Linked DNA regions of Homo sapiens: region 2 is linked to region 1. Evidence: promoter capture Hi-C in 16 types of primary human blood cells and fetal thymus (Javierre and others, 2016). All regions are on one chromosome and are shown on one strand. The core of a region is centred on a gene start or on the middle of the fragment in contact, and the rest is flanking DNA. Distances in the headings are between cores, read along the strand shown.

Evidence for each region. Contacts are between HindIII fragments. The CHiCAGO score rates a contact against its expected background, and 5 or more counts as called.
Region 2: a contact is called between the fragment with the promoter of MLYCD here and a fragment that was not itself captured in region 1, in 1 of 17 cell types (neutrophils). The highest score is 5.9, in neutrophils.

What each region holds. Positions count from the first base shown.
Region 1 is chr16:84,061,000-84,064,987 of GRCh38, forward strand. It overlaps MBTPS1 (membrane bound transcription factor peptidase, site 1), which reads right to left. Exons shown (of 23, transcript NM_003791.4): 19 at 2,306-2,446. Among named protein-coding and RNA genes, the nearest start is that of SLC38A8, 20 kb to the left of the region's middle. The HindIII fragment of the contact is 6,401 bases long and covers 1-3,988 here.
Region 2 is chr16:83,896,851-83,900,439 of GRCh38, forward strand. It overlaps MLYCD (malonyl-CoA decarboxylase), which reads left to right and starts at 2,265. Exons shown (of 5, transcript NM_012213.3): 1 at 2,265-2,822. The coding sequence starts at 2,295. RefSeq lists silencers at 2,035-2,464, 2,765-2,934. The HindIII fragment of the contact is 8,175 bases long and covers 901-3,589 here.

The sequences.
Region 1 (3,988 bases), core at 136-2,635:
ATTTTTTATTTTTTGCAGAAATGGGTCTGGCTGGTCTCAAACTCCTGGGCTCAAGTGATCTTCTTGCCTCAGCCTCCCAAAGTGCTGGGATTATAGGTGTGAGCCACCACACGTGGCCCGGAATTTAGCTTTTAAGAAGAAATCTCTAAAGGAATTTTTTTTAAGTTAGTCCCCAAAAGTGGGGGAAATGGGAGTTCAGAAGTCACGAGTTTAGGTCAAAGTAAATCCAACATGTTCCAGATTCCCCTATTCTCATAAGACATGCATTCTCAGTGGCCCAGCCCAGCCAGATAAGCACACACAGCCATGACCTGACCAGGGCTCCACTCCCAGTGCCCCAGGGTTCCAGGTGGTCAGCACCACTGTCCACCAGGTTGCACCAACTGCCTGAGTGCCACACTCAGCTCCTCATGGATGGGGGCAGAATGGAGCTCATTCAGAGACAGTGAGACCATGTGACACCCACTGAGAAAAGAAGGGCCTGAGAGCGGGGTCTCAGGGGCAACAGGGAGAGGAGAACGGAGGGCCATGGCTCCTGCTGCATCCCAGAGGCTCTCCTGGGGAGAAGGAACTGTACTGACACCCCAGGGGGTGGAGGCAAGGCTCAACACCCATGCAGCATCTGTTCACTTGAGCTGGGCTTCGAGTCGGCAGGGCCCTGACCACTGGAAGTGTGACAGCAGAGAAAGGGCAATTTGTTTTCAGGGACACCTCAGAGTCGAGGCACTGGGCTAGCAACAGCTCCCGTTCACAAAGGATCCTTTCTGAGAGGGAAGGCGCAACCTGGTATTGAAACCTGGAGCTTCTGTTTCCATCTTGTTTCTCCTGTGTCTGCCCCTTCAAGTTCCATTAACATCAACCTGGACTAGACAAGATCCGTGTGAGAAAAATGCCATTAAGTACTTTCCTCTCATTAAAGGGCACTTCTGGTCAAGTGCTTAATGCCCCTGAAAGATGAAAAAAGCTGCCATTTTAAATGTAAGGCCTAGGACCACCCTCTCAGGCATTTACAATTTAATAAAGACTCTTACCAGGAGATCTCAGGTCTTAAAATCTCTGTGGAAATAAAACATTAACCTCCTTTAACTGTGACTTTAACCCTCACTTTTAATTTTAATTTTATTTTATTATTATTTTTTAAAACAGTGTCTTGCTCTGTCACCCAGGCTGGAGTGCAGTGGCACGATCTCGGCTCACTGCAACCTCTGCCTCCCGGGTTCAAGCAACTCTCCCACCTCAGCCTCCCAAGCAGCTGGGACTACAGGCACACGCCACCACGCCTGGCTAATTTTTGTATTTTTAGTAGAGACGCGGTTTCACTGTGTTGGCCAGGCTGGTCATGAACTCCTGACCTTGTGACCCACTCACCTCGGCCTACCAAAGTGCTGGGATCACAGGCGTGAGCCACCGCGCCCGGCCCATTTTTGATTTTTAAAAAGACCCATCCCAGTCTAGGGATTTACATAAATGCCAGGAATGTAGTCAACTTCAGCCTGAAACGGAGGGGCACACACACACCTCTCAGCGCACGCTGTTAGTGCCTCATTCTTGTCACTCACCACCCGCCCTGTGCCTCGAGTTCCCCAGTGGTCACAGCGCATTAGAAGGTTGCCTTTCAGTCCTGGTGTCATTATCATCTCACCAGGTAAAAACATGGAGCACTTTTACCATTCTTTCTCCCCTTTACAAAATGAGAAAAATAGTCTGTGCCCAACCTCAAGCCCCCAAATCCAACGGATGCATCGAGAGACTGACATAAAGACGCGGAGGGAAGAGGACTGGCATGCCTATTTGCCTCCCCTTCACGCCTCGAGATAACAAACGCTCTTCACTGATAAAGGCTAAGAAAAGCCCGAATTCCAGGTCTGGAAGGACAGCCAAGAGCCAGCCCTCCAGTAAAAGAGTGAGTCAGACCAGAGAAGGGCGCCCCCTCGTGGCAGTGCCCACAAAGTCCAGGCAGCACGGCGTAGGAAGCCTGGGAGGGGCAGGCCCCAAGGAAGTCAGGGAAGGGACTCTCCACCACAACGCGGGAGTCCCGCCTCCGCTGGCCTCAGGAAGGTGAAGATGGAGAAGAGGCATCATGGCCCCAACAAGTAGCTTTGTTTTGCTTATTAAATGTGTGCACACTCAGACACCTATCAAAATATTCCAAGCAATCAAAGTGACTGCAACATCTCCAGCTGAGCCTGGCTCAAGTGAACAGATGTCGGCTGATCTGCCAGCATCTCACGGGCGCCTTTCCAGAGACAAAGGGAAGAAAGGATCTGAGTGCCGAAGTCACAAAGTCCATCTGCGTTTTTCCTACCCTTCTGTCGGTGACTGTCATCCAAGCAATTGGAGTCCCCATACAGTACAATCCGGCCTCCACCCTCAGCTGGAATCTGATAAAGTCCCAAAATGGGGACGTTTTCAACAACTGCTGTTTCCTGCTTTAAAACCTCCAATCCTGAAACAACACAACAAAAAACAACAGCCATGAGAGTTTCCACTGAGCAGTGAGTTATTTCCTGATATTTCATCCACGTGACAAATAAACCACATTTACAAAATCTAATATTCAATTAAAACATTGCAAATTTTTAGAATAGAAAAGCCTTAAGAATAAGCCTTTTAGAATAGAAATGTCTTAAGTGCCATTGATTTGTTTTAGCAAAATTCACTTTGTGTGTATTTCCGTATCTATCCACTTTCATTTTTACTTGCCATGGCAGTACATAATATTTACAATTGCAAAGGTGCTGCCTCTATCTTAAAAAAAAAACCTAAATTGTGTCCCCTCTTATTATCCTGAAAGGCCTATGTTTTCAGACACCTACACAAAGGGCAGCCAGCAGATCTTGCTAAACACACAGGTTTCTCTATGAATACAGTCATATATACTAATACCCAGGTTTCACGTTTTATTATGAAAAGCTAGGACAAATGTAACTAATTTTTAAAAGTATGTCCACATATTTATATTTAGGTTTAAGACATCGGTTACATTAATTTCACAAAGACACATGTTCCAATAGCACAGCCTCCTATCTTTGCCCAGATGACATAATTTAAAATTTGTAATGAATCAAGAAGTCAAAAATGTATAAATGCCACAGGCAGCATCATCAGTGGCACCACCAGATAATCTAGGAGTCTCTGCCCCTAATTCAATTGCTTTCCTCAGCACTAGAACATGATGTACGTCTTCAGCAGAATCTAGTATTGTCCGTGTTGATAACATCTGAAATGTCTGTAGCTCTATAAACGTGACATTCCCTGCTCTCTGTGCAGGAATCCTACTAGGAGCTGAGTAGAAGAAAAAATAGGCCATTCTTTGGAAGAGGGAAGCAGTCAGGAAAAACTGGAACACATTCACCGCCATTTGCCTTGTGGTATTTGATGGGAGTTTTATTTCTGCCATCAGGGTCTTTTCTGATCAGGCATAACCCAAATTCCTATTTTCAAATTCTTATTTTGTACCCAAAAGATTATTCAACTTAAAGTCTTTATGGGAATAAAATGCCCCTTTAAAAAATTTCGTTTTCACACTGTAGTAGAACACCTAAAGAAAGCACATATCCTTAAATCTACTTCTGATTCTCCCCACCCACCTACCAAAAACAAGGATCTCCCAGAGGGTACAAGCCAATGAGACCACCGCTTTGATCCCTTGTTTACAGCTAGAACCTGAAGTGATACTGTCTATGAGAAATGCTTTTAGAAAGAATCACTAACCCATGGCCAAGTGACTGTGAAAACAATCATTATGTGCCTAAAGGTGAAATATAACCTATTAAACACAGATCCAGTTACTGATCAAACTTGCTTTTGATAAAAGGAAAAAATCCCTTCCAGGTAATATAAAAATAAGTTCTATATTCCAGTTGCAAGTAGATAAGGTGAGAAATCCTCTCTTTTCATCGTTTTCAACTAATAAAACTATCCTTAACGTCCACGTACAGAAAATGGCAACTTTAGAAGGGAGGGGGCCTCTCATTCTGAAATACAC
Region 2 (3,589 bases), core at 1,015-3,514, 160 kb before region 1:
TATAAATATTAGAATATGTTTTTCTATTTCTGCAAAAAAAAAAAGGGCAGTGAAATTTTAATAGGGATTGTATTAGATCTGTAGGTTAATTTTGGGAGTATTGCCATTGTATTAGTCTATTCTCACGCTGCTATAAAGAAATACACGAGACTGGGTAATTCATAAAGAAAAGAGGTTTAATCGGATTATGGTTCCACAAGCTGTACAGAAGACGTAGTGGCTTCTGCTTCTGGAGAGGCCTCAGGAGGCTTCCATTCATGGCGGAAGGCAAAGGGGGAGTGAGGAGCTTCACATAGCCAGAGCAGGAGAGAGGGGGTGGTGATGCACACTTCTAAACAACCGGATCTCCTGAGAACTCACTGTAGGGTACCAAGCGGGGATGGTGCTAACCCATTTATGAGAACTCTGCCCCTATGATCCAATCATTTCTTACCAGGCGCCACCTCCAACACTGAGGATTACAACTAGACATGAGATTTGGTTGGACACAGATCCAAACCATATGAGCTATATTAACAATATTACATCTTCCAATCCATGAACCATGCATGGACCATTCCATTTGTTTAGGTCTTCTTTAATTTCCTTCAATACTGTTCTGTGGTTTTCCATCTACCAGTCTCACACTTCCTTGGTTAAACATGTTTCTTTTATCCCTTCAGATGTTGTTGTAAATAGAATTGTTTCTTTAATTTCATTTTTGGATTGGGGCAGTCTTTTGAAATAAGGACATGAGTGGGAAAAAGCAGAGGATGGCTGTTGACGCCTAGAGAAAAAAGTATAAACACAGAGAAAAAAAAAACAGAAGCCAGAAATTACATAAAAAGGAAGGCACCGGGAAAGATGAGAAAGAACAGGGTTGTGGGAGTACTACACTTAGCAAATGCTTAAGCAAAGTCAAGCTTTCAAGACAAGATTCCTAAAGCAAGGCAGGAGTATCCTAGGACAGACAAAAGCTCACTCGACAAGGCAAAGAGACAAACACCAGAGTTTGGACCCCACCAACTCCCTTAGCCAGCTGGCAATATGGTTTCACCACTTCTTAGAAAAGAGGAATGGAGAGGTGTCCTCAAAAGCCACCACTAGGCTTTCAGAATGTTTTGTGTGTCTGTGTCTTGGCAGAATGAGCCAAACGTACTTTCTTCGTGCCCCATAAGATGAGACACACCCAGCAAAGGCTGTCCTCATACAGAACTACCTCCAGGTGTCTTTTATACTGCAAGACCTGCACCAAAGGGTTCTACCTATAGAAATCCTAGCACCTAGACATAGTCAACCAAGTACATGGCTCCCTCACCCTCCAACCAAAGATGCCATATTTCCATCAGAGTGGAACAAAATCCCACTGTGTTCCTAATGCCTCCTGCAATTTTGCATGTGGGAGACATGGCTGGTATGTGACATTCTCTTCTACAGATTGTAATGGATTGGGGAAGGAGGGGGAACTAGAGTTCAGGCCTATCTTTCTAGAGGACAAAATAAATATGCCTTGATAACTGCAATTATCTGAAAACTATTTCAAAGAAAACTCTTTGTCTCATTCTGGCATTTGCTCAAGGGTATGGCTTTCCATCAGTCTCTCTGTCTCCATGTCTCTTTTACATACATATGTATGTGTATATGCGTGCGTATGTGTACATACATCCATACATATAGACATATTCTCTCTCTCTCCACACACACTCACACACCCCTCCAACCTCTGTGGCTCTGAGCGTCATGTGTGTAAGACACTGACGCGAATGGTGAGTGCCTAGGCAGGGGTCAAACAAAGGCTACCTACCATGCCAGAGGATTGCCACAAACACCTCTTAAGCAAGCATATTCCTTGGCTCCTCCCAGACACACTGAATCTGAATCTCTAGGATTCTGATTTCGGAGCCCAGGAATCCTCCGGTGCAGGAGTTCCCAGGTGACTCTGATGCACCGGGAGGCTGGAGGCGCTCGGATCTAGAGAGGAGGCGGCACTTGTGCAGTGCAGTCGGGAAAGAGAGGAGGGGCTGGGCCGGTGCCTTTAGGCGGTCAGGTGTTAGGACCGGAGTACAAGCCGCCAGCCGCGCGGGAGCAGGCCCCGAGGCAGCCCAGCCGCGGGGCAGTAACCTTTAGCCACACTTGGCCTCCGGCCGCCGCCAGAGCCGCTCCGCCCCCGCCGCCTCGCCCCCACCGCCCCGCCCTCCTATTGGCCGCGTCCCCAGCCGGGCTCGCGGCCTCGGCCAATGGGGCCGGCGCGCGCCGGAAGCCGGAAGCGCGGCAGCGGCGGCGGCGCTCCCCCTCGGCAGCTGTTGTGGGGCACCATGCGAGGCTTCGGGCCAGGCTTGACGGCCAGGCGTCTCCTCCCGCTGCGGTTGCCCCCGCGGCCGCCCGGGCCCCGGCTGGCGAGCGGGCAGGCGGCCGGCGCCCTGGAGCGGGCCATGGACGAGCTGCTGCGCCGCGCGGTGCCGCCGACGCCGGCCTACGAGCTGCGCGAGAAGACACCGGCGCCCGCCGAGGGTCAGTGCGCGGACTTCGTGAGCTTCTACGGTGGGCTGGCCGAGACGGCCCAGCGGGCCGAACTGCTGGGCCGCCTGGCGCGGGGCTTCGGCGTGGACCACGGCCAGGTGGCGGAGCAGAGCGCCGGCGTGCTCCATCTGCGCCAGCAGCAGCGGGAGGCGGCGGTGCTGCTGCAGGCCGAGGACCGGCTGCGCTACGCGCTGGTGCCGCGCTATCGCGGCCTCTTCCACCACATCAGCAAGCTGGACGGCGGCGTGCGCTTCCTGGTGCAGCTGCGGGCCGACCTGCTGGAGGCGCAGGCCCTCAAGCTGGTGGAGGGGCCGGACGTCCGGGTAAGGGGCCGCCGTCGATCCCCCGGCAGCGCGGACTGGCCGCCCTCCTCGAGTAGTCCTCACTTGCCCCCTCCAAGTCCCACACACCCCGCCTTCCCTGCCCGATAGCACGCTCACTTCGCCCGCAGTTACCGCCTGCCAACTGTGTCCCCTTCCCACGCTGTCTGAGTCCTGGCCTCGTCAGAGCACACCCCCGCCTTCCTCCAGTCTGTCCTTGAAGTCCTCACTTGTATAGTGTTTACTAAATACTCAGCACTTGGTGGTCTTTAAGGTAGCTGTCACCTCTCGTACCTGATTAGTGTGTGCTCTACAGTCTTTTGAAATTATTGTAGCTGAGAAGTGTTTCATCTATATGGTATACCTGAACTAGAGCATCAGGCAGCCTTCTGAGACCCTGGATGGTGTTTCAGAAGTTCACTGGGCACCCGCTATGTGTGAGACATTGTCCTGAGAAGTCCTGTGAAATGCACAAAGGTAAATAGGACTCAAGGTCACCACCACCACCCAGGAGTCTCCATGGCTTCTGGCCTTGTCTGTGCTCCATGACTTTTGGGAGGGCATTTAACTCCCTGCGTTCAGTACTTAATGTGATGATTCTGAGTTGACTTGAGGTAATCAGGCATTAGCACAGTTCATTCATGTTAAATGCAGACACATACTTTGAGATTTAAATGATTATGACCCGAAAGAAGGCCTAGAGCAACATATACTCTTCTTTTATACTGTTAGTATTAAATACGGCGAAAAACTAACCTGCCCTTTTTTTA